Linked DNA regions of Homo sapiens: regions 1, 2, 3, 4, 5 and 7 are each linked to region 6. Evidence: promoter capture Hi-C in 16 types of primary human blood cells and fetal thymus (Javierre and others, 2016). All regions are on one chromosome and are shown on one strand. Each heading gives the region's core, a stretch centred on a gene start or on the middle of the fragment in contact. The rest is flanking DNA. Distances are from core to core; before and after follow the strand shown. Region 1 overlaps BRCA2 (BRCA2 DNA repair associated). Region 2 overlaps NBEA (neurobeachin). Region 3 holds the start of PDS5B (PDS5 cohesin associated factor B). Region 4 has its middle 9.4 kb from the start of N4BP2L2. Region 5 holds the start of LOC124903256 (small nucleolar RNA SNORA16B/SNORA16A family). Region 6 holds the start of RFC3 (replication factor C subunit 3). Region 7 overlaps ZAR1L (zygote arrest 1 like).

Region 1 (3,804 bases), core at 1,305-3,804, 1.5 Mb before region 6:
ATTATAGATTAACTGAAAGTATTCCTTAGGGGAAATAAAGGGCTGGGCCGAAGTAAAGGGATGGGTCTGGCTAGTTATCTGCAGCAGGAGAATGTCCTTAAGGCACAGGTCGCTCATGATAGTTTGTGGTTTAAGAACGCCTTTAAGCGGTTTTCTGCCCCGGGTGGGCCAGGTGTTCCTTGCCCTCATTCCGGTAAACCCACAAGCTTCCAGCGTGGGTGTCATGGCCATCACGAACATGTCACAGTGCTGCAGAGATTTTGTTTATGGCCAGTTTTGGGGCCAGTTCCCAACAGCAATATGTGTTTAAGGTTCTTCCATGTCTTTTAATGATTTCATGCTGAATAATATTCCATCGTATTGATGTACCACAGCTTGTTTATCCATTCATCTATTGAAGGACATCTTGATTGCTTCCAAATTTTGGCAATTATGAATAAAGCTGGTATAAATATTCACATACAGGTTTGTGTGTGAATATATTTTCAACTCATTTTGGTTCACACCAAAGAGCACGATTGTGGGATCATATAGTAAGAGTATGTTTAGTTTTATGAGAAACTACAAGCTTTCTTCCAAAGTAGCTGTTGCATTTTGTATTCCCACCAGCAGTGAATGAGAGTTCTTGTTGCTCACATCCTCACCAGCATTTGGTGTGTCAGTGTTTTGAATTCTAGCCATTCTAACAAGTGTGTAGTGGTACCTCATTGTTTGTTTTATTTAATTTTTTTTTTTTTTTTTTGGAGATGAAATCTCGCTTTGTCGCCCAGGCTGGAGTGCAGTGGCGTGATCTTGGCTCACTGCAAGCTCCGCCTCCCAGGTTCACGCCATTCTCCTGCCTTAGCCTCCTGAGTAGCTGGGACTACAGGCACCCGCCACCACACCTGGCTGATTTTTTTGTATTTTTAGTAGAGACGGGGTTTCACTGTGTTAGCCAGGATGGTCTTGATCTCCTGACCTCGTGATCCGCTCGCCTCGGCCTCCCAAAGTGCTGGGATTACAGGCGTGAGCCATCATGCCCGGCCTGTTTTATTTTTTAAAGTCAATTTTCTTTCAAGAATTAGCTACTTTTTAGTATCTTTAATTAAAAATCTCATTAGAGAAGGAGGTTGGATATTTTGTTGAAGTGGGGTTTTTAAGTTACACATCCATTTGCTTTATTAGTGATTATGTCTAGTCCATGTTAACTTGAAAAATGAGACTATAATGAGACATTTTATTTAGGCTGCTACAAACAGTTTTAAATTTGGTCTTCACTTTATTTTAGTAACATTGATAGAGCTTATTTTTCCCAAAAGCTAAGTTAGAGATTATAGGACCAACCGAAGCAACTATTTTCTAAGAGTAATAATAAGTGACTCAGGTGCCAAATTTGTAGTTACCATCAACTATTGGAACCATATGAGTACTTAATGCCCTGGAGAGTCAAATATAATCTACTCTAATACAGAAAATAGAAATATTGAAAAACTGTAAATTGGATTTCATATTGTTAAAGCCACCTATAGCTTTAGAAACTCTGAACATTATTTTCTTAGAAAATGGATGTGTTCAATAAGAATAGAAATTATGTATTACTGTCTGCAACTCACTTTGTCTAATTATATCCAATTTATTCATCCAGTCAATATTTCAGGAGTGACTAATATACCAGACATTTTTGTAGTTGCTAGGGATACAGTGACAAATAAGACAAAATCTCTACCTCAGATTGCTCACAGCCTAGTAGGGGGAAAAAGAACAGTGTATGATCAAACTCTTCAGGGAACACATAGGGGGGCAAACACTTAATCTTACCTTAGGGATCACTACAGTTTTCTGGAGGAGGTAGTTTCTAAATGGAAGCCTGAAAGAGTTGTTCCAGGTCAAGAAAAGCAAAGAAGGGGAAACAGCTTGTACAAAGTCCTAGAGGTTAAAGAAAACATTCTTTCAGGATATGCAAATGGTTGGGTATGGGTAAAAAGTAGACTGTAAAAGAATGGCATCATAAAAATTAAGTAAATTGTCACATAAATATATATATTTCTTATGTACCCACAAAAATTAAAAATGAAGAAATTAAGTAAATTGTGAAAGGCCTTCATACTATGGAGTTTGACTTGATCTTGAAAAGTAAGATCTTGAAAGGTTTTTAGCACAAGTGATATTGTCAGATCTGGTACATTGGTAGGTTTTCAGTAAATGTCTTCCCTTACTCCTTTTTTCTCTTTCCTTCTGCTTTTGTTTAAAGCGACAAGATGTTGCTCTTTTCCCAGGCTGGAATACAGTGGCATGATCATAGCTCAAGCTCCTGGGCTCAAGTGATCCTCCCGCCTCAGCCTCTCAAGTAGCTAGGACTACAGGCATATCACCACACCAGCGTTTTCTTTGTAGAGGCAGAGTCTCACTCTGTTGCTCAGGCAGGTGTTGAACTCCTGCCTCAAGCAATCCTCCCACCTCAGCCTCCCAGAGCCCTCAAATTATAAGCCACTGTGCTCGGGGCATCCTTTTTGGGGGGTAATCAGCAAACTGAAAAACCTCTTCTTACAACTCCCTATACATTCTCATTCCCAGTATAGAGGAGACTTTTTGTTTTTAAACACTTCCAAAGAATGCAAATTTATAATCCAGAGTATATACATTCTCACTGAATTATTGTACTGTTTCAGGAAGGAATGTTCCCAATAGTAGACATAAAAGTCTTCGCACAGTGAAAACTAAAATGGATCAAGCAGATGATGTTTCCTGTCCACTTCTAAATTCTTGTCTTAGTGAAAGGTATGATGAAGCTATTATATTAAAATATTTAAATGAAACATTTTCCTACATATATTTGTTCTATAAAGATGAATCTGATTTTTATGCTAATATTTTGGCTAAGAGCCTGGTAGAAGATCTTACATTTTTAAATAATCTTTTAGGTTGAGTCCTTTAATAGAATAGTTTTTACATTAGAAACATGTAAGTTGTTGTTCTTGTGATGTTGAATTGGCTGGTTTTCTGTATATTCTGTGATTTTTTAAGTAACAAAAATAACAGTGGTGAAAAGCAGTAAGTCAGTCCTTGAATTATCAATTTAAAATAAATTGTGTACTTTTCATCTTTGGAGAGAATATGATTTACTTTACAAATTTTTTTTTTGTTTTTTTTTTTTTTGAGATGGAGTCTCTGTCACCCAGGCTGTAGTGCAGTGGTGCGATCTCAGCTCACTGCAAGCTCCGCCTCCCGGGTTCACGCCATTCTCCTGCCTCAGCCTCCCAAGTAGCTGGGACTACAGGCGCCCGCCACCATGCCCGGCTAATTTTTTGTATTTTTAGTAGAGACGGGGTTTCACCGTGTTAGCTAGGATGGTCTCGATTTCCTGACCTCGTGATCCGCCCGCCTCAGCCTCCCAGACTGCTGGGATTACAGGCGTGAACCACTGTGCCCGGCCTACTTTACAAAATTTTTGAGTTTAAAATACACGGTTTCCAGCAGCTGAAATTTGTGAGTACATATGTGTTGGCATTTTAAACATCACTTGATGATTATTTAATGCTTCATGAGAGATTTACTTTTTAAAATGTAATATAAAATATCTAAAAGTAGTATTCCAACAATTTATATGAATGAGAATCTTCTTTTAAAAATAAGATAAACTAGTTTTTGCCAGTTTTTTAAAATAACCTAAGGGATTTGCTTTGTTTTATTTTAGTCCTGTTGTTCTACAATGTACACATGTAACACCACAAAGAGATAAGTCAGGTATGATTAAAAACAATGCTTTTTATTCTTAGAATACTAGAAATGTTAATAAAAATAAAACTTAACAATTTTCCCCTTTTT
Region 2 (3,488 bases), core at 484-2,983, 1.3 Mb after region 6:
TGGAACAAAACGAATATTTAAATCTATAATTCAGTGAAGTCTAGATGTAAGATTTTGCCATTTTTATTTAGAGGACATATTGTTTGCCAGGGAAAACTGACCTAGAATGGTTAGCATCAAAGTGCATTACTGGACTTAAATAGAAGAATACTTTGTATAATAGTGCACAAATAAGGAGAAAAATGAGTCTGGCTTTAGACTCTAAAATAACCTTCAATACAAAAAACTATAACAATCATAATTAAATGAAGAAAGTGGGAGCCAAACTATCCTTTAAGTAAAAAGGATGCTGTCAAATATTTTTTAGCCATACAGCAAATTATTTCTGTGACTAAATCTTGAGGAAATTGTGGGGAATAAAGTCCAACCAACTAGGAATGACTGGAGAAACTATTGCTAAGGACCGCTGGTGAGCACTGAATAAATTTAACCATAAAACTAAGACTAAAATAAATGTTCATATTACTGTGACAGACCAGAATTTACTTTTTATATATGCTAATAATGTACAAATGACACAACCGTAATGAATTGGGAGGGGACTGAGAAAAGAAGGAAAGTAGAGCAAGTGCAAAGAGTCAGAATTTCCATGTAAGTGGACAGATGAAATATTACAAATATAGGCCTATTGACTAAAATTTGATGATGTAGATGAAAGGAAAAAATTAAGAGTAAATATGCTGACATTTACATTTCTCATAGTAGGGAAATACCCTTTTTAAACAGATGGAGGATTACTTATTCTTTCACAGTTAAAAAGATAAGCAGTTCTATAAAATTATAAAGCTTTCAAAATATTTAAGATCTGTATGGATAAAACTAAGAACAATGTATGTAATGGAACTTTGAAAAATCCGTAAAGATCAGTAAGCATAACATAAAATATGAAATATCTAAGACCAGTCTTACTGTCATTAAAAAAAAATGTAAAAGCTTTTATAAATCAGCTGTTGTAAGAAAAATATCACAATTGATCACAGTAATGAAACCCAGTTCTGTATGCAAGAAACATACCCAAAAACCAAAGTGGTTTTGAAAGGTTGAAAGTAAAAGGATGAGTAAAGTTTTATTATATAAGTACAAAGAAAGCAGAAAGGGGTGGGGGGAGGGGGGAGGGATGGCATTGGGAGATACACCTAATGCGAGATGATGAGTTAGTGGGTGCAGCGCACCAGCATGGCACATGTATACCTACGTAACTAACCTGCACATTGTGCACATGTACCCTAAAACTTAAAGTATAATAATAAAAAAAAAAAGCAGAAAGTAGGAACCATGATCTTAGTATTGGACAAATTAGAATACAAGCCAAAAAGCAATAACCATTAGATAAAGAAGAATTCTTTATAATGATAAAATAGAAACATTCATAAACTAGAAATTACAGGAGAAACAGACAGTCACTTAAAGTTTAAGACTTCAGAACGAACTTTAATTCACCTATTTCAGTCCACAAAAAGCCAAGAAGATCTGAAATGGGATAAATCTTTTTGACCTTAAACTTGTGGGTCGGTGTGTAGGAAGATTGGAGTGCTATCATGCTGGCTCCAGGGGCTCATGGTGCAGGACTTATAGCTTGCTAAGTTTTATACTACAAGTCAGTAAGTTTAAAGGGTGCTCTGCCTGACACTACCTGCAGGGATCTCATCATTTAAAATTCACAGCCATGAGATTTGACCTTGACTCTGTGGGTAGTGAAAAATAGCAACTCATCTAAAGGGGCCTACTAGCCAGAGGCAGGATGAGAGAATCATCAAACTGTGTACCCAGTGAAGTAAAACTATGGTGGAGGCTGTTGTGGAACATCTGAATTTCATTTATACAAAGAGATTTTGAGATTCAAATAGAGCACCAATGATAATATTCTGCTCTTTTAGCTGATGATTTTTTAACCCTTCACCCTACTTAATGGAAGATCTGAAAGCATGGATGAAAAATAGAGAGTGAGAGAAAAGATAAAGCCTTAGAAAATAAGAGACTTCACATGTGGCTATTAAGAGTTCAAAACCAAACACCACATGTTCTCACTCATAGGTAGGAATTGAACAATGTGTGTGATGTTTCTCCTTAAACATGGGGGGAGGGGGGAGGGATAGCATTAGGAGATATACCTAATGTTAAATGATGAGTTAATGGGTGCAGCACACCAACATGGCATATGTATACATATGTAACAAACCTGCATGTTGTGTACATGTACCCTAAAACTTAAAGTATAATAAAAGAAAGAGTTCTTAGAAAAGTGATGAGTGTAAAAACTAGATATCCTGAAACACTTTGATCTACTAAAAACTTAGAAATGTTAGATAAAAATATGTCAAAAATCCTATTAAATATATAGGTGTGCACACAAAAGTAAGGGAAATTCTCACATTCCAGAAATGAAAATCAAGCATACTAAAAGAAACAAGACTTTAAAAACAAGGTAATTTAAAAATAAACCATGTAATTAAAAAAACCCTAAGTAACTTGTGAAAATGTAAAGGTAGTAATTACAATGAACACCTATATGGAAACATTAAACAGATTAGACAAAGCTTCACAAAGAATTGGTGAACTGAGGGATAGAACTGAAGAAATTACCTAGAAATCAACACCAATAAGCAAGATTACAACCATGACATTAAGAGAGGGGGAAAAAAGGAAAGGTTTCAAATATGGCTAATAAGAGTTATAGAAAAGGGGAAGAGAGAATGAGGAAGAGGCAATATTCAAAGTAAATTACTAAAGTTTTACAAAATTGATGAAAGACCTGATTTCTCAGATTTTGGAAGTAAAATGAATTCTAATCAGGGAAAATTAGTATGAAATCTTACCACAAAGTGAAACTCCAGAACCCAACAAGGACAAGGAGAACAACAAAGGGAAGTTAGCCATATAATATTAAAAGAAATATAATATTTTAGTAAAGAAAACAATATAGTACATATTTGTGAATAAACAGCAAAGTGCAGTCCATAGATTGACCCAAATACTTAGTGATTTTAGTGCTAATAAAGGTGCCATCTCTGATGAATAGAGTGATGATTTACTTTTAAAAAATGCTGTCTGTTAAAGGAATGGAACAAATGATATATTTTTATTTGCATTTAAAAAGTTAATAGGCAGTTATAACAAATGTACCACTCTGGTGAGGGATGTTGACAGTGGGGAAAGCTGTGTATATGTAGGGGTAGGGACATATGGGACTCCCTACATTCTGCTCAATTTTACTGAGAACCTAAAACTGCTCTAAAAATAAAGTGCATTTAAAAGAGAAGGGTAAAGTGGTAGGGAAATGAGAAATTATAAAGTGTTCACTTGTATGGGGGAGCTGTGAGTGATGTGGAAATGTAAAGGATGAGTTGGGTGTAAAATCTCTATGTATTTTTTTATGTCATATATTTTTAACTAGGTAAGTGTATTACTTATTCTAAAAATTAAATGATAAAAGCTGTTATTGCATTATTTAAATATATAAAAATAAACTTTAAGGCAAAAAATTTAAT
Region 3 (3,709 bases), core at 663-3,162, 1.2 Mb before region 6:
TTCAGCCCTTTCAGGACTCACTGCCATATACAAGATGTAGAGTGACATTCTTAAACAATTCATACATCCAACAAAATATTTACTGAGGCTTCCAGGTGTCAAATAATGGGGATAAGAGCACTGAATAATTTATACAAAAACTCTTAGCCGGGCATGGTGGCTCACGCCTGTAATCCTAGCACTTTGGGAGGCTGAGGCAGGCAGATCACGAGGTCAGGAGATCGAGACCATCCTGGCCAACATGGTGAAACTCTGTCTCTACTAAGAATTACAAAAAATTAGCTGAGAGTGGTGGTGTGTGCCTGTAGTCCCAGCTGCTTGGGAGGCTGAGGCAGGGGAATTGCGTGAACTCAAGAGGGAGGTTGCAGCGAGCCAAGATCGCGCCACTGCACTCCAGCTTGGCGACAGATCAAGACTCCATCTCAAAAAAAAAAAAAAAAAAAAGAAAGAAAAAAGAAAAAAAAATTCTTGCTTTCATCCTGGCTTTCTTCTGAAACTTTCTGGCTTCCTGGCTTTGGAGGTTTGGGAATTGAAGAAAATAAAGTAAAAAACATAATAAAAACAACCAAAGAGGAAAGGTTTTTCTAGATCTAGACATCCTACTCTCCCATACAAGATTTATGTTGATGGAACAACGATGTAAAATAAGAAAATTCCTGAGATAATTTTAAAAAGAGGGCAGAAAAAACTCATAGTAGACTTCATCGAGGAATGTATAAAATGGGTAGAACCTGGAGTATTCAGTGGCAAAATCTTGGACACAGGAATACAGTAACACAACATATTGGTCTAGCAAGCACTGGAGGAGACTGAGGCGGAATTGTCCAGCGAATCCCACAAAAATGGAAATGAAGAGGTCTCAGTATCTCTAGGTGCCCGGGTCCGATGGAATACCGATGTACATACCTTTTCTAACACAGTAGCATTAGTTTATATATCAGCATTACCTCTCTTTTGTTTCAGTTGATAAGTATCCTACTGTAATCCATTCATTCACACTTTGCTTGTTCATTGTTGAAACAAATTCTCCCTGGAACAAAATTCTAGTAACCAAATACATCATATCAGGGGAAACTTCCTTACAGCAGGGATGGTATTAAAGTAAAAAGAGGAGGAAGTCCCTTCTTCAGCTCTGGCAGGGACCCGGCTGGGGAGGAAACCTTCCCGCAAGGTAGGTGATCTGCTGTGGTGACCAGGCTAAACCCACTCTACAGCTGCAGGAGGGACTGGCATCCCTTAGAGGTGAAGAGGGGAGGAGACCCACCTCCTGGAATGTGTCCCTGTGGTCTCCAGATGATTTCTTCCTCTAATAAGGACAATTCTGCCAAAGGAATGGAATGCTTCGTCACAGGCTCAATTACTCTGTCTCCGCCAGCCTACCACCTATAAACAATTCCTCAAATTAGGAAAGCGGGGAGATTTAATAAAGACATAACACGTAAAGTGTAGGAAAACTATTTGTATGGCATTCCGAGACGACTAGGTCAGAGTTAACAAGTAAGGAGCAAAGTAGTTAATAATACCAATTCTGTTTACCCATCACAACACCTGTGCTGAATGTCAGGGTTTAAAAAAATCTCCCAACCTTTATCTAAAAAGATAGGGCTACGTAACAATCGGTGTGGTTTTTGTCGGTAGAGGTCTAGGAAGCCGCAAGAGTAGTGGACGCCTTGACAGCTGCCCTTCTCGCGGGCCCCGCGGCGGCGTGCCCGTGTGGTTGCGTGCGCGCGGACGGGGCGGGGCTGAGGAGGGACGTGCGCGCGCGCGGACGGGGCGGGGTGGAGCTCGGAGGGCGGACGCGCTCGGGGCCGTCTGGTCGGCAGGGGGCGCTGCGCACCCATGCCGCGCTCTGCCTGCCCCCGGGTGCTGTCCGCGGCGGTTCGATTGGAGCAGCCGCCGAAGAGCGCTTGGCGCCATTTTGAAGCGGAGAGGAGGAGGAACGGCAGGGCTGGCTGCGGAAGGGGAGGGGGGGGGAGAAGGCGATTGGATGCGGCGGCGGCGGCGGATCCCGGAGAGCCCCGGAGTGAGCGGAGTAGCGAGTCGGCAACCCGGAGGTAGGAAACAATTCAGTTAACGGAAAGAAAATGTCTCTCTTCTCTGGCTGCGGCGCTCCATTTTTCAGCGGCCGCCACTGCCGCTGTGTGCGTGTGTGTGGCAGGGCTGAAGCGCCGCCCGCCTGGGTGCCAGGCGCGACTCGCCTCCCGGCATCGGGGGCTGCAGCGGGTGGCTGCCTGGCGGTGGCCCGGGGCGGGGGTCGCGGGGCGCGGGCCGGCTGCGCGGTGGGGGTGGGGAGGGCCCCGCGGCCGGCGCGCGCCTCCACGCCGCGGGTTCTGCCGCAGCCTCTGGAAAATTAAACTTGCCGCTCTGATCCCGGCCGGGGCGGCGGCGGCGGCGGGCGGTGACCTTGCGCGCGGGCGGGGGTCTCGGGGCCGCCCGGCCGCCCGCGCCCTCCCGCCGCCGCCGTCGCCGCCGCCGCGCCCCTCCCCCCGCGCCCCGGCCGGCCGGCGGCTGTTTCCCGGGCGGCAGGCGGGCGGCGCGGTGCTCCTGTTGAATCCTCCCGCGGGCGGGCTTCTCCCCCTTCCGGGCGAGGGGCGGGCGGGGACCGCGGGTCGGGGCCGCGGGCGCTCTCGCCCCCGCCGCCGGGTCCCCGCGCGCCGCCTGGCCTCCGCTTCGGGCCAGGGGACGGGCTGAGCGTGACATTTTTGCACTGTCCCTCGCCGCTCGCCGGAGGGAAATCGCGCTCACCGCGCCACCCCGAGTGGTCCCCGAGCAGCCAGTTGAGGAAGAGCCCAGCACTGGCGTGGAGGGACTCCTCCCAGGCCACAACTGGGTTCTAGCTTTCCTTTCAGAAGGAACGGCGGGGAAAATGGTGTGCAATTGTGACTCGTTATTGTTTTTACACTGTTATTTTAATGTTACTTTAAAAGTTTTCGGTCCGGAGAAAAACCTTGTTTGTTGTTGTTGCTGCTACTGCTGTTGGTTTTTGGTAGAGACGTGAAAGCTAACTCTTAAGTAGCTCGACAGTTATTTTGGACGAATGACTGAAACCAGAAACGCCGCCCCTCGCCTTCGGAGCTGCAGGCTGCTGCGTTCCTTGCCGCGGACGGGGCGAGCTCCGGGAAGGGTTGGTAGAGCAGCTACCCACCCACTCCACGCGCGTCTTCAACAGCCTCTCTCCCCCAGCGAGGGTTAACCCTTTTTTATGTCGAAGAAAGTGCTTCTCGTACTTTTAATAAGAGGTGATGGATGGGCAGTGGTGCCCAGACTGATCCTACCCTGTTGATGAAATAGTTTCGAAAACTTTGGGTATAGCCTTAATTTAGAGGGTTGGTCTGCGGTGTGGAGAGAGTTGGGTAATCCTATACTATCTTCCTAATGAACTTCAAAAACTCAAGTTGTGTTTACATACAGGAGGCGAGCTGTAAATAAATCGTAATTACCCAATGCTTGAACGGCAGTATAGTCATTGTTCTCAGTTAACACATCCCGAGTTCCCAGACAGAACGTTTTTTATATTAACTCATGTAGTGGTCAGGTAAAGTAATTAAAAGCCACAAATATGGACTTGAAAGACAGCTCTTCATGCAGTACACATGTCTGAGATGTTCGCATCTTTAGGGACAATAAAATGAGTATTCAATGGTGTATGCAGGTCAGTTCGTGCAACAATTAATCTTGTATCTCATGGTGATAGCAGAAAACCTAATTA
Region 4 (3,657 bases), core at 821-3,320, 1.3 Mb before region 6:
AGTTAAAATATTTTGGAGACACTCCCTCCCTTTACTGAACAAATGATAAGAACAGAATGAAGACTGTAGCCCACACCTGTTGAGATGACATTCAACTATAAGTCAGTAGGAATTCTGGTTGTCTGATGTCAACCATGAAAACTATAACATCTGCCTAAAAAGAACCTTTCATGCAACATAGTAGTCAGAGTACTAAAAGGACAAAGAACGGTCATCAGGCTTACTACTAAGTAGGCTCTATAAGCTATTCCATGCCTGCTTGCTAAACAAAAATGTTTGATATATCTGTAAGTGAGACAGAAACTTGCTCTCAAAGTTGCCGGGAGAAGGTTTTTTTACTTGATTCTAACAACTGAAGGCAACTGTTGTCTATCAAAAAATAATCATAAGAATTGGGTTAATAAATTTGCGTGGTCAGCTCACAATAAAAATAACGAAGAGAGATGGGGCTTTGGCAGAAGATTTTAGGGCTATCTGTCTGTGCTCTTGGCTGCTTTGCTTTATCTGAGGTGTCATGGCCTTACCATCCTAAAAGGCATAACCTGTTCACATTTGATAGATGATTGATTTTATCATTGCTTAGATGACAGACAACCAAAACTTTATAATTTATTCCCCCAAGGATGAGATCCCAAGAGTTAAAAAGTGATAGCAACAGCTGAATTACACTTTTACAGCTGGTTAAAATGATAAATATGATGTTATGTTTATTTCACCACAATAAAAAAATGATAGATCAAAGACCTAAGTATCAGACCTAAAATTACAAAAATCTTAGAAAATTTGGGTGAAAAGCTTCATAATGTTGGTTTTGCCAATGATTTCATAGATATGACACTAAAAGCACAGTCAACAAAAGAAAAAAACAGGGGCTGGTCACAGTGGCTCACACCTGTAATCCCAGCACTTTGGGAGGCCAAGGTGGGTGGATCACCTGAGTTCAGGAGCTCAAGACCAGCCTGGGTAACATGGTGAAACTCCATCTCTACTAAAAATACAAAAATTAGCCAGGCATGGTGGTGGGCGCCTATAGTCCCAGCTACTTGAGAGGCTGACGCACAAGAATCGCTTGAAACTGGGAGGCAGAGTTTGCAGTGAGCTGAGATCGTGCCACTGCACTCCTGTCTGGGCAACAGAATGAGACCCTGTTTTGCGCTCCTGATTGGGTGACAGAGTGAGACCCGTCTCAAAAAGAAAAAGAAAAAGAAAAAGAAAAAAAATAGGTAACTTAGGCTACATCAAAATTTAAAACTTCTGTGTATTGAAGGACAATCAACGGAGTGAAAGGGCAACCCATGGAAATTTGGGAAGAAATATTTGCAAATCATATATCTGGTAAAGGGTTAATATTTAGAATGTATAAAGAACTGCTACAACTCAGCAATAGCAACAGAACAACAACACAAACAATTTGATTAAGACATGGACAACTCTGGGCGTGGTGGTTCACACCTGTAATCCCAGCACTTTCAGAGGGAAGGCAGGAGGATCTCTTGAGCCCAGGAGTCTGAGACCAGCCTGGGCAACATAGTGAAACTTAGACACTTTGTCTCTACAAAAAAAGTAAAATAAAATTAGCAGGGTGTGGTGGTGCGTGCCTGTAGTCCCAGCTACTTGGGAGGCTGAGGTGGGATGTAGGAGGATTTGCTTGAGCCTGGGTGGTAGAGGCTGCAGTGAGCTGAGCTCATGCCACTGGATTCCAGCCTGGATGACAGGAAAAAAAAAAAAAAAAAAAAAAAAAAAAAAAAAAAAAAAATATATATATATATATATATATATATAATTTTGTATAGTTTCTTTGGAGAAATATCTCCAAATGCACAAGGTCTTGACTATGTCGTCATACTTGCCCATGGTCTTTGTATGTCTTTATATGGGCAAGGTCTTGAGTAGACATTTCTCCAAATAAGGTATACAAATGGCCAATAAGAACATGGAAAGATGCTCAGCAGACATCACAACTATAATGAGATATCACCTCACACCCATTAGGATGGCTGCTATCAAAATAAAATTTTTAAAAAACCCAGAAAATAACAAGTGTTGGTGAGGATGTAGAGAAATTGGAACCCTTGTGTATTATTGGTGGGAATGTGAAATGGTGCAGTTACTGTGGGAAATAGCATGGTGCATCATCAAAAAAATGAAACATAGAGTTACTATGTGATCCAATTCCGCTTCTGGGTATATACCCAAAAGAGTAGAAAACAGGGTCTCACAGAGATATCTGAACACCCACATTTATAGCAGTATTATTCTCAATAGACAAAAGGTAGAAATAACCCTAGGACACATTGGCAGATGAATGTGTAAACCTAACGTGCTATTAACATGCAATGGAATATTACTCAGCCTTAAAAAGGAAGGAGGCCAGACGCTGTGGCTCATGCTGAAATCTTAGCACTTTGGGAGGTTGTGGCACAAGGATCACTTGAGCCCAGGAGTTGGAGACCAGGCTGGGGAATGGAGTGAGACCTTATATCAAAAATTAAATTAAAAGGAAGGAAATCTTATCACATGCCACAATATGGATGAACCTTGAAGGCATTGTAGTAAAATAAGCCAGTCACAAAAAGACAAATGCTGCCTAAAATAGCCTAACTTATAGAAACAGAAAGTAGAATGGTAGTTGCCAGGGACTGCGGGAAGGAGGAAATGGGAAGTTGTTACCTAATACGTACAGAATTTCAACTTCACAAGATAAAAATTCTGGAGATTGGTTGCACAACAATGTGAAATGTATTTAACACTACTGAACTGTATACTTAAAAATGATCAAGATGTTAACATTTTTATGTGTATTTTACCCAATTTTTTTTACAAAGTCATAGTGATAGGGAGATCCAGTAATAGAAAAATAGATATTTTCAAGTACTTGAATAGAAAGAAAATTCTTTGAAGGAAACTAAATGAAAAAAAAAAAGGATTACATTTAACAATTTTTTTTAGCTGAAAACATTGGGGAAAAAATTGCTGCAGAGATTATTAGAGAATATTTTCTTCTCTTAACGTGTCTTTTCTGTTAACTTTCCTGGATAAGGGGATAAGGAGGCTGCCCAGTCCAGGAAATCTTGGGGTTCTACTGTCTTTAAGGCAGTGATGTTGGTGTCTCTTCTGATATTTTACTTCACAGGATGGTTGACAGAGTGTAGCCGCCTCCAACTCCTAGCAGTAAAGAAGATAAACACTGTTCAAGGAGGCTTTGCCTTGAGGCATGTGTTATAAGTTACTCTTAAGAATTGAATTTCACACTTTTCCTTAAATGTCATGAGAATGAGAATCTTAAAAGCAGGAAAAATTATCAATCATCAGTAAACATGAAAAGTATTTTCATTTGATCAAAAGACAAGCTTATGACGGTTTTCTTCCAGCCCATTCTTGGACACCACAAATTGGGCTGGCTTCCTGAACGTGCACCCCATTTTCAGCTCAGAGAACCGTGCTCCAAAGGGTAAATACACAAGTGTCTTTGTTTTATGGATTTTCCTGTTAACAATTATAGGGGAAACAAAATGTACCAAGAGGACAATTCCAGAGGTTTCACATTTCGACAGTGTCACAGCAATGTCCCTTCTCCTGTGCAGTTACAGTGCCCCCACAGCAATGGCCACAGGATTATCTCAGCCCTGTCAGTTTCCGCTGGAAGGCCCAGGTTGT
Region 5 (3,372 bases), core at 214-2,713, 1.4 Mb before region 6:
GGCCTCCCCGGCCATGCTGAACTGTGAGTCAATTAAACCTCTTTCCTTTATAAATTATCCAGTTTTGGGTATGTCTTTATTAGTAGAATGAGAACAGACTAATACAACCCTTAAAGGAGACTGACGGAGAGGATTCTTCCTGGATCCCAGCACTTCCTCTGAATGCTACTGACATTCTTCTTGAGGACTTTAAACTGGGAGATAGAAAACAGATTCCATGGCTCAGCAGCCTGAGAGCAGGGAGGGAGCCAAGCTATAGATGACATGGGCAGCCTCCCCTGAGGCCAGGTGTGGCCGAACCTGGGCAGTGCTGCCACCCACCCCACCAGGGCCAAGTCCTGTCCTTGGAGAGCCAAGCCTCAATCACTGCTAGCCTCAAGTGTCCCCAAGCCACAGTGGCTAGGGGGACTCAGGGAACAGTTCCCAGTCTGCCCTACTTCTCTTACCTTTACCCCTCATACCTCCAAAGTAGACCATGTTCATGAGGTCCAAAGCCAGGCTCCCAGAGAGCCCTCATTCTCGTTTGTCAGTGTGGTCCCACAGACTCTATTGAGCAGAAATTCCTTTAAGTATCTTGCATGTGAACTTTTGTAGGCTCTCACAGCTGTGCAGGTTTCACCTGTGTTTGTGTTCTGTTGGTTCAGTCATGAGCAGAATTGGGGAAGGAATCAGGCACACCTACCTCAGTACTAATTTTTTTTGGCTGTTTTTTCCCAAAATGTCATAGATCAGTTACAGATAACAGAAGAGTAACTGTACAGGAAAACTGTCACTTTGGGCTGTCTGTGCTGCTTAAATGGGAAGGCGGCTGCATCTTTGATCCCAATTTTTAAATTTCTTCTTACTGTAACTATGAGGTAAAGGAGCCGGCACATCAAACATTTTCACCTGCAACAAATAGGAATCATTTTCTTATGCACCGAATTGAGAACTTTGGAATGAGTGGCTCTGTTTTTTCCTTTTCTTCCCCCTTGTCTGTCCTCCATATCCCATTCATTCTTTTTTATTTATTTTATTTTTTTTAGACCGAGTTTTGCTCTTGTTGCCCAGGCTGGAGTGCAATGGCGTAATCTCGGCTCACTGCAACTTCCACCTCCCAGGTTCAAGTGATTCTCCTGCCTCAGCCTCCCAAGTAGCTGGGATTACAGGCACCTGCCACCATGCCCAGCTAATTTTTTGCATTTTTAGTAGAGACGGGGTTTCACCATGTTGGCCAGGATGGTCTCGAACTCCTGACCTCAGGTGATTCCACCCGCCTCAGCCTCCCAAAGTGCTGGGATTACAGGCATGAGCCACCATGCCCAGCCTCATTCTTTTACATTTCTCTTTATGTGAATAATCTGCCCTTTGGTTTCGTTCTTTACTCAAGAGCCATGCTGACATCCAAGCTTCCACATCTTAGGAGGCATCTCACATTGCGTTTCATGAACTAATGCATTCATCAAATGTTGAATAAAGGCCTGTGATGTGCCTGGCCTTCTTTTAGGAGCTGGACAGAATAAAGTTCCTGATCTCATGGAATTTACATCATATCTCATGAAGCTTACGTTCTAGTAAAAGAAATAGATAATAAATAAATATACGTCAGTGGTACCAATGCCAAGAAGAAAAGAAAGCCAAGGTACAAGGCAACAAATGGTAGCATGAAAGTCCCTTTCAGGCCCTCTTTCTTCTTCAGCATATCCTTAAAATCTGTGGGGAAAGAGTGCTGGACAATCCTGGCTATACAATCATACTTCAGCAGGACTCCCCAATAATTGTGAAAGGGATGTAGGTATGTTTGTCCATGAACTTCCCTAGTAATATAAGATCACTTGGTGTATTATGAAATCCCCTGAGTCTCTCAAATGTGTGACTCTCCAATCCTAAAATCCTCATCTATAAAATAAAAATGACTACATCCCAGGGTTATTGTGAAGATTCAATAAGCCAGTGTCCAAAAAGGGCCGGGCAGACAGTCAGCAGTAACCATGTGCTGGCTTTTCTTTCCCCATTTCTCCCTTCCCCTTTCCCAGACTCTTACCTTGATAAAAACAGCCTTCTCCCCAAGCCATACATATGATCTGCCTTATGAAGGAACAGTTGGAAGGCAGACTAATTTTTCTTTATTATAAAATTTCCTTAATCCCAGAGAGCCTCAGTATCTTCAGATAACTTGGCGTGACTAAAAAAAAATTCTTATTGGGTTCATCCAGAGACTGAGTGGCCATAGGCGGGTGCTATTATGTAGGGGAAGGTTCATGAAACTGCCATGAAGGAACTAAGGCATTGACTTATAAATATCCTAACATGTGAGCAGATGAGAAAGAGACTTTAGACCTGCTTGGGAGTTGGAAGTTGACTACCACATCTCTCTCCAACACATCATAACCAGGATAAATATGGAAACGTATTTAAAAATCTAAATCTCATTTCCTCCCATTGCCCTCAATGGTACGTTAATAAAGAAAATAAATTCCCTGGTGAGTAATATTTTTTATATTATGAGAAACATTAATATTGACAACAAAAAATGTAGCTTCCTTACCCTGACAATTGAAATCCAGGTTAACTTAGCCCGCTTATAAGGCTCTTGTTTTTTCATTATACGACAGATCAAAACCAAACTCATTACCCTTTCACGAGATCACCCCCTTTCCGGCCTCTTCTTTTGGGGTACACAAAAAAAGCTGTTAGAAATAGGAGAACACATCCCTTTGACCCTGATCAAGATGTTTAGCTTCTCAGTGTCTTGGGCTCAGACCAGATGAACTCCAGGGGAGTTCCTATACATCTCCTGAACTTTTCCTTTGAAAGTATTCTTCCCCTATTCTTCCTTCCTTCATCCATTTCTACTTCCTCTCGGGTCATAATCCACACCTGCAATATCGGATTGCCCCAGTTCAGCAGGGTCTTCTTCCATTGTTCCAACAGCTCCAGGAATGTGTTTGTGGTGAATCTCCTGTATAGCTGGGCAATCTTTCCTGATACAGCCTCTCCAATGAGCAAGAACAAGCACATACCACGCTGTATATTTGCACTCTTTGTTAAACAGATACAGCTTTTAAGTCCTCATTCATCCCAGCCTCCAGAGAGAGGGTAAGGACAAGGACTCTCGGTAGTGAGGAGAGGAGATTTAGGACCCACCTTAGGAAAATTGTGAAAAATACAAAAAGCTAGTAGTCATTTTCCAAGTAGACCTAGATGACTAAAGATTTGATATATCACCTGTCTGACCCTCCACTTTTATATTCACAGAGTTGGAATGCTGCAAACATTCTATTGTGAGCTTGCTTTTATTAATGAGAGCCCTGGCCTCATAAAGAAACACACCACAGTCCAGGCCTGCTGGCTAGGAGCACTGTGGAGCAGAGTATTCTTTGGGGTCCAACT
Region 6 (3,427 bases), core at 106-2,605:
CTTTATTCCTCTCAGTACTTATTTCCATTATCATTCATTATGATTATGATATACACATAGACCACAATTCAGTATCCCTGCTTCTGATTTCCTTTACCTTCTCATTTCAAACACTTCCTCCATTTCAATTCCAAAGGAGAGAAGCATAAAGAAGATGAAGCTTTTTTGCAATATTAAATAGGGTGGTCAGGGAAGCCTCAGTGAGGAGATAATACTTGAGCCAACATCCTGAAGGAAATGAGGGACCCAACTCTGCTGACTGGAGAAACATAGTCCAGGAAGAGGAAACAGTAATTGCAAAGGCCCTGAGGCAGAAGCCTTCCAGGCTTATTATAGAAAGTTTCTCGAGAACAGGGATTAAATCTTATACTTGGTGGTGTGGATAATACCTTACCTGCAGGAGTAATTCATGTAATATGACGATTCATAGAAGAACATGATAAATTATTGATTAATAAATGAGTAAGAGGCACCTTGGTGAAAGGTTATTAAGTATATTTGGAAATCATTTCCTGCCTGTAAGACCTTGCAATCAAATGGCAGGACTTAGGGTTCTTAATAATACATAAAATAAAAGCATAAATTAAATAAGGAATTAATATTATGTACAATGAGTAAAGTGCATTTTGAGAGGCACTATTTGAAGAGAACTTCAAAAGTTGCATATCAACTTCATATGCAGAATATTTTTCTGAGGGGTTCAGATGCTTCTACACATTTTAATTGGAGGGCTTTCAAATATTCTAGACTTAGAATGCATATTAACCTCGTGTCTTCTCCCCTACAGACCACATTTGGGTAGTTTTTCCATGCTCTTGATTCTTTTGTTTCTAATCCAATAAGAATATTGAGGAATAGAGGTAACAAAGGATAGTGAAGATCAGACATTTTCAAGCGATTCATCCAATGAAGCTTTACTGGGTACCTGCCAAGTGAGTGAAACCCTGAGATGTATATATTCTAGTGCCGAGGACAGAGTTCCACACCTAGCAGATATTTAGTAAATTTTTGTTGAATGAATTAAGTGAATGAAAGAATGAATAAATGAAAGGAACGGTCTTCTCTGAGGTATCTGGATGTGACGCCAAAAGGGTCAGAACCACATTTTCAATTCCGCTTGATAATTTCTAGAATATAATAGACGGTGCGAACAAAGAGAAAATAAATAAAGCAGTGAACTTCAGAACTAGAGGGCATCGACGCGGCAGCTGATTTTGTCTGCACACGGCCCCCGTAGCCTTTCCGTCCAAAATCATTTACGCGGCCGCGACCGGTAGTGACGTCACGAGATTTGGAGCTCGCGGGAAAACTTGTCTCTGCGTTGTGGGGAGGACGCGCGCTCGCGCGGGATTTTCAAGCGTAGGCCCCCGGGAACTCGAGCTGCCATGAGCCTCTGGGTGGACAAGTATCGGCCCTGCTCCTTGGGACGGCTGGACTATCACAAGGAGCAGGCGGCCCAGCTGCGGAACCTGGTGAGTCTGCGGGGGCCGGGAGCGTGGGAGAGGGGAGGCCCCCCGGCTCGGGGTTTCGCGCCCCCCTGAGGAGCAGTGCTTCTCCCGCCCGCATTGGAAGGTGATAAGTGCTATGGAGAAAAATAACACAGGGAAGGGGGAAGAGGTGTGGGAGGCTGGCTTGTATTTTTAAACAAGAAAAGCTCCACTGAGAAGTGGCATCTGAGCCGAGACTTGAAGGAAATTGAAAAGTCATAAATACAGAAATCCGAGCAAAGAGTGGAACAGGTAAGAGGGGACAGCAAGTGCAAAATTCCCGGGCAGGGATGTGCACGGCATGTTCTAAGAACCTCAGGAGGCCGGCGTAGCCGATAGTGGTGAACCAGCGGGAAGGGTAATCGGAGATGGGTGTATGTGTTGGGATGGAGTTGGAGTGCAGACCCAGTCAGTCTCAGAATAAGACGAGAAGCCGTTGGAGCATTTTGAGCGGAGATGACACCATGTGATTTACTTTCTAGCTGGCTTAAGATTTCTCGATGTCATTGTCATTTACAAGTAAAGTGTTGTAAATATGTATTTACTCCAAAGATCGTTTCTAATTCTCAAATAAATTGTATTAGGACGTTCCTGAGATTAGTTTTTTTTTTTTTTTTTTTTTTTTTTGAGACGGAGTTTAGCTGTTGTCGCCCAGGCTGGAATGCAATGGCGCGGTCTCGGCTCACTGCAACCTCCGCCTCACGGGTTCAAGCGATTCTCCTGCCTCAGCCTCCCGAGTAGCTGGGATTACAGGCGCCCGCCACCACGCACAGCTAATTTTTGTATTTTTCAGTAGAGACGGGGTTTCACCACGTTGGCCAGGCTGGTCTCGAACTCCTGACCTCAGGTGATCCGCCTGCCTCGGCCTCCCAAAGTGCTGGGATTACAGGCGTGGGCCACCGTGCGTGGCTGAGATTAGAGCTTTGTGAAAGATCCTCTCCCCTCTATCCTGATGCCTCTTTGTCTGTTGTAGTTGATAAAAGTGCCCAATGGCAATATTTTGTGAGAACGAACTGAATCTTCCAGGGAGTAGAGAGTAAAGAAGGATCTTTAGGAGAATAAAGTGTCTGTGGAAGACATTTATCCACTCCTTTTAAGGAACTCAAATTAATATATGATGCTGATGGAAACGTTTTTGCCCAATACCCTGGTTTTCCCTTCCGACCTTTCTTAGATTTACAGATACTATTTAATTAAGTGCGTCTTAAAAATAAGAAATAATAAGAAAAGATTGTACACGTAAAAATCATTAGACTAGTTGATAGTGTTGTGACATTGAAGGTTTTTTTTTGGTCTCTTTATTGATACTGCATGTATACTAATTTAAAATAAATTGATTACTGCAGTATCCATCATTTATAGACAAATTACATTTTCCGTCAATAGCTTTGTCTTCAGTTTTCCTAGTGATAGAATACATTTTATTTTCTGTGGCCACATTTTGTTGTACAGAATTTGGAATGTATATTTTGGACATGAATTTAATATAATGGTCTTATGTGTTAAATTTGCTTTTAAGAAATGTTCACCTGTTTACTCTTTTATTTGCAGCTTAATCAAACTATGAAACATTTAAAGCATAACCCTTATTTTTGATTAGATTGAAGTTGAAAAAACAAGGCAGTAAGTGTCTGTGGGACACTTGCCATTTTCCAGGCAGTATATTAGATTGAATAGTTCTTTTCCTTGGGACTTTTTAGTGACAGAGATGGATGAGTTTACAAAGTATTAAAATTCATTGCAATAAGCGCTTCTCTTAAGATACGTATTCCATTTTTTCAATAATGGTTATTTACAGAACTTCACCTTACAAGACTTTATGCTCCCGAGGCTAAGGTCTGTCACCCACTCATCTTTATAGCCTTCATAGCACTGGTTCCCAAACCAGACTGATCATCAGAAACACCCGAAAAGCTTTTGCAAAACTCATCATCAGCAGA
Region 7 (3,863 bases), core at 233-2,732, 1.5 Mb before region 6:
ATCAAAACCATCTTCTCCCTGCTCCCTTCATCCTGCGAGTCTCAATCTCATGTCACCTCTTCCCAGCCAACGTGTCTAAAAGGTTACTCTATCATAGCACCCTATTTCCTTCATGGCATTTATCACAATCTGAACTTGAGAAGTATAAATGTAATTGTGAAAGCATGGAGCAAGTCCTACTCTACCTGGTTTAAATCCTGGCACTCTGCTCTGGCCTCTGTGTGCCTCTATCTCCTCATCTATGAGAAGGTATAATAGCTCCTACTTCATATGGGTGCTGTAGTGAGTAATAGCAATGCATGGCACATGCTAAAGGCTGCTTCTGCATTTGCTATAGTTGTGTATACTTGGAGGAAGGACCTTGCCCCTTCATCATCTCTATATATAATGCTTAGAACCAGTGCTTAGAACGTCCGACTTATAAAAATTTGTCAAAAGAATGGCTATTTTTCTTCATTGTTCCCCTTCATATAAGTGACAGTATCTACCATTTCCCAATGCCATATATTGATGTTTTTACCCTAGGATCACCAATTAATGTGGCTTCATGGTCTAGTTCACATGCATTTATTTTATTCTATTCACATTGTACAATTGTTACACAATCTACAAAAAGTACAAAAGCCTAGCCATTTTCCGATGCCAGGTCAGAGCCAAGTTGCAAAAAAGGAAGACAGCACAGTAAGTTACAAGAAGAGCTCAGGGGTCCATTACAAGTCACACTGTACAAGTCACATCACATATTTAAAGCTGTAAATATTGCCACAGGAGAATCTCTTGTCTTTGCAGCGACCACACAGTTCCTGTCGATGAGGCCTCCTTAGATCAATGTGTCTCTTCTTTTGAGGACAGGAACAATGAGACTTTGAGCAGGTCTTTAGGAAACAAAGAAGAGTTTGGACGCTAAATGATCAGTTTAGTGTTTCAAATGTAACCCTCAAATCACAGTACTTCTCCCTATTACCCTATCCCTGAAACCTTCATCCTCTGAGTCCTACGAGAAGGCCAAGACCAAGTTGTACAAAATTACTTGTATCACATTAAATGTCAGATATTTTTTCAAGATGAATGATCACAGAAGATATTCAAGAGAATACTGCAGAGCCAATCAAGACAACATAATGTAAAAGGAATTTAAGAGTTTTGTAGAATTTCTTCCCTATGTAGATTTTTACATTTGTAGCTGAACCAGTCAAGGCAACATAATGTAAGAGAAAAAAATAAGTCAAGAGTTTTATAGCGTTTCTTCACTCTGCAGATGTTTAGATTTGTAGGCAGGTCAGGGTGAGTGGCAGTGGGTAGGAATAAAATGAACATTTAAAAAAGACTAGAGCAGATGTTCTCAACCAGGGGTGATTTTACTCCCCCATCTCCAACCCCAGTGGACATCTGGCAATGTCTGAATATATTTTGGGTTGTTAAAACTGGGAGAGAAGGGTATTCTGGAGGAAACTAAATGTTTCTTTTCTTCTTCTTTTCGATGTGCCCAATCTTTACTAGGATCTAAAATAGTTTCTTTCAACCATTATCTCATTTCTGTCTTCCAATAATTAAAACTAATATCCTATGGAAACTGGTACAGTACCCTGGTTCCATCCCCCCAACCCTGCCATTCTATTTTCTACATGTCCCATAGCCACATGGAATAAGTCAAGATTTACCTTTTTTTTTTTTTTTTTGAAATGGAGTCTCGCTCTGTCGCCCAGTCTGGAGTGCAGTGGTGAGATCTTGGCTCACTGCAACCTCCGTCTCCTGGGTTCAAGCAATTGTCTCTGCCTCAGCTTCCTGAGTAGCTGGAATTACAGGCAATCGCCACTATGCCCAGCTAATTTTTGTATTTTTTAGTAGAGATGGGGTTTCACCATGTTGGCCACACTGGTCTTGAACTCCTGACCTGAGGTGATCCGTCCGCCTTGGCCTCCCAAAGCGCTGGGATTACAAGAGTGAGCCACCATGCCTGGCCAAGATGTACCTTTCTATATTGTGAAAATAGACATTTTTATTCTGCTAAATGCAGTCTTAAACATTATTTAATAAACTGTTCTGTTGAAGAATATGCCTCCTTATGAGAAAATTCCTTTTTTTTTTTCTTTTTTTGAGACAGAGTCTCGCTCTTTTGCCCAGGCTGGACTGCAGTGGCGCTATCTTGGCTCACTGCAAGCTCCGCCTCCCGGGTTCACGCCATTCTCCTGCCTCAGCCTCCTGAGTAGCTGGGACTACAGGCGCCTGCCACTGCACCCGGCTAATTTTTTGTATTTTTAGTAGAGATGGGGTTTCACCATGTTAGCCAGGGTGGTATCGATCTCCTGACCTCGTGATCCACCCGCCTCGGCCTCCCAAAGTGCTGGGATTACAGGCGTGAGCCACTGCACCCAGCCCTTGTAAGAAAATTCTAACAAGTAATACTCACATGGTGTTTACTATGTGCCTAGCACTCTCTTAAGCACTTTATATACATGAATTCATTTAATTCTCACAACACCCTTACAAAGAAAGGCTCAATAAAATAAGGATTTACCCTAAAGGTTGATTTTTGCTTCTGGAAATGATGGATTAGGTAATTCTAACCAAGCCTCCTGGATGACTAGAAAAGCTGAGCTAAAAATAACTGTTTGGATCACTGAGAAATTATCAGAGCATTAGAGATGAAAACCCAGAAATAGGTGTGAGCTTGATGTCTGGGACTGTTTACTCTCACTATAGTTTTTCACATGTGATAGCTAGCACTCAATCAAAAATAACCAGGTACTGTATGTGAGGAAACAGAACAACATACTTGAAAGCCAAGAGGACAGCAATAGACTCACAGGGTATTGAGTTAATGGAGTTCTCTGACACAGATTTTAAAATCACTAAGTGCTAATATGTTCAAGGAAATAAAACTAATATTTCCAGCAAAAAATTGAAGTTTTCTTCTAAAGCAATAAAAATTCTAGAACAGAAAAATACAACAAATAAAATCAATAGTTCAATGGATGTTTTAATCACAGATTAAAAAGAGCTGAGATGAGAAATACAAATGGAAGATGGTTTAGTAGATAATATTCAGCCTAAAGCAAGAAGAGCTAAAAGCATGGAAAATATAGATAAGCACATAAGAGACAGAAAGAAATATGGTGCAAAGGTCTAGTATGAGTAATTGGAAGAAAGAAGGAATAGGAGCAGAAGTAACATTTGAAAAGATAACAGTTGATAATTTCCCAAAAGTAATGAAAATCTTTAAGCTGCAGTTTCAAGAAACACTATGAAGCTCAAGCAGGATAATTACAAAGAAACTACAACTAGGCACATCATTGTAAAACTGCTGAAAAACCAAGGCAGAGAGAAGTAAGCAGATTTACGAAGGGGAAAGAGAAGAGATTACTTCAAAAGAGATGCAATAAGAGCTATATTGTTTCATAGAAACAATGAAATTCAGATCCTTAAAGGGCAGAAAGAAGTATTTCCAACCTAGAAATTCTATATATACCCAGCGAAAATATCTCTTAAAAAGATATCCAAGGCTGGGCGTGACGGCTCACGCCTATAATCCCAATACTTTGGGAGGCCAAGGCAGGTGGATAACCTGAGGTCAGGAGTTCGAGACAAGCCTGGCCAACATGGAGAAACCCTGTCTATACTAAAAATACAAAAATTAGCCGGGCGTGGTGGCATGTGCCTGTAATCCCAGCTACTAGGGAGGCTGAGGCAGGAGAATCACTTGAATCCAGGAGGTGGAGATTGCAGTGAGCCAAGATCATGCCACTGCACTCCAGCCTGGGCAATGGAGCAAGACTCTATCTCAAAAAAAAAAAAAAAAAAAAAAAGATATCTGGACAAAATAGAATTTGTCACCTCCAGACCAATACTATGGAAAATATTAA

The links. Contacts are between HindIII fragments. The CHiCAGO score rates a contact against its expected background, and 5 or more counts as called.
Region 1: a contact is called between a fragment that was not itself captured here and the fragment with the promoter of RFC3 in region 6, in 1 of 17 cell types (non-activated CD4 T cells). The highest score is 7.7, in non-activated CD4 T cells.
Region 2: a contact is called between a fragment that was not itself captured here and the fragment with the promoter of RFC3 in region 6, in 1 of 17 cell types (M1 macrophages). The highest score is 7.7, in M1 macrophages.
Region 3: the fragment with the promoter of PDS5B here is called in contact with the fragment with the promoter of RFC3 in region 6 in 9 of 17 cell types (naive CD8 T cells, total CD8 T cells, naive CD4 T cells and 6 more); the score reaches 18.3 in naive CD8 T cells.
Region 4: a contact is called between a fragment that was not itself captured here and the fragment with the promoter of RFC3 in region 6, in 1 of 17 cell types (non-activated CD4 T cells). The highest score is 6.9, in non-activated CD4 T cells.
Region 5: a contact is called between a fragment that was not itself captured here and the fragment with the promoter of RFC3 in region 6, in 3 of 17 cell types (naive CD8 T cells, fetal thymus and naive CD4 T cells). The highest score is 8.3, in naive CD8 T cells.
Region 7: a contact is called between a fragment that was not itself captured here and the fragment with the promoter of RFC3 in region 6, in 1 of 17 cell types (activated CD4 T cells). The highest score is 5.1, in activated CD4 T cells.

What each region holds. Positions count from the first base shown.
Region 1 is chr13:32,322,428-32,326,231 of GRCh38, forward strand. BRCA2 (BRCA2 DNA repair associated) reads left to right here. Exons shown (of 27, transcript NM_000059.4): 4 at 2,649-2,757; 5 at 3,674-3,723. Among named protein-coding and RNA genes, the nearest start is that of BRCA2, 8.8 kb to the left of the region's middle. The HindIII fragment of the contact is 3,977 bases long and covers 567-3,804 here.
Region 2 is chr13:35,126,991-35,130,478 of GRCh38, forward strand. The region is part of intron 17 of NBEA (neurobeachin); the gene reads left to right. It overlaps LOC124903232 (a long non-coding RNA gene), which reads right to left. Exons shown (of 2, transcript XR_007063909.1): 2 at 1-3,488. Among named protein-coding and RNA genes, the nearest start is that of NBEA, 190 kb to the left of the region's middle. The HindIII fragment of the contact is 1,604 bases long and covers 932-2,535 here.
Region 3 is chr13:32,584,540-32,588,248 of GRCh38, forward strand. PDS5B (PDS5 cohesin associated factor B) reads left to right here and starts at 1,913. Exons shown (of 35, transcript NM_015032.4): 1 at 1,913-2,054. It overlaps PDS5B-DT (PDS5B divergent transcript), which reads right to left and starts at 1,906. Exons shown (of 3, transcript XR_001749808.1): 1 at 1,838-1,906; 2 at 1,265-1,383; 3 at 479-1,030. RefSeq lists silencers at 1,598-1,967, 1,978-2,057, 2,478-2,727 and an enhancer at 2,958-3,017. The HindIII fragment of the contact is 4,434 bases long and covers 1-3,709 here.
Region 4 is chr13:32,546,363-32,550,019 of GRCh38, forward strand. No RefSeq gene overlaps it. Among named protein-coding and RNA genes, the nearest start is that of N4BP2L2, 9.4 kb to the left of the region's middle. The HindIII fragment of the contact is 2,555 bases long and covers 794-3,348 here.
Region 5 is chr13:32,419,689-32,423,060 of GRCh38, forward strand. The region is part of intron 1 of N4BP2L1 (NEDD4 binding protein 2 like 1); the gene reads right to left. It overlaps LOC124903256 (small nucleolar RNA SNORA16B/SNORA16A family), which reads right to left and starts at 828; the gene lies at 702-828. The HindIII fragment of the contact is 154 bases long and covers 1,387-1,540 here.
Region 6 is chr13:33,816,794-33,820,220 of GRCh38, forward strand. It overlaps RFC3 (replication factor C subunit 3), which reads left to right and starts at 1,356. Exons shown (of 9, transcript NM_002915.4): 1 at 1,356-1,472. The coding sequence starts at 1,386. The HindIII fragment of the contact is 2,489 bases long and covers 911-3,399 here.
Region 7 is chr13:32,303,148-32,307,010 of GRCh38, forward strand. It overlaps ZAR1L (zygote arrest 1 like), which reads right to left. Exons shown (of 6, transcript NM_001136571.2): 6 at 552-875. The coding sequence ends at 732. Among named protein-coding and RNA genes, the nearest start is that of ZAR1L, 10 kb to the right of the region's middle. The HindIII fragment of the contact is 8,321 bases long and covers 1-3,863 here.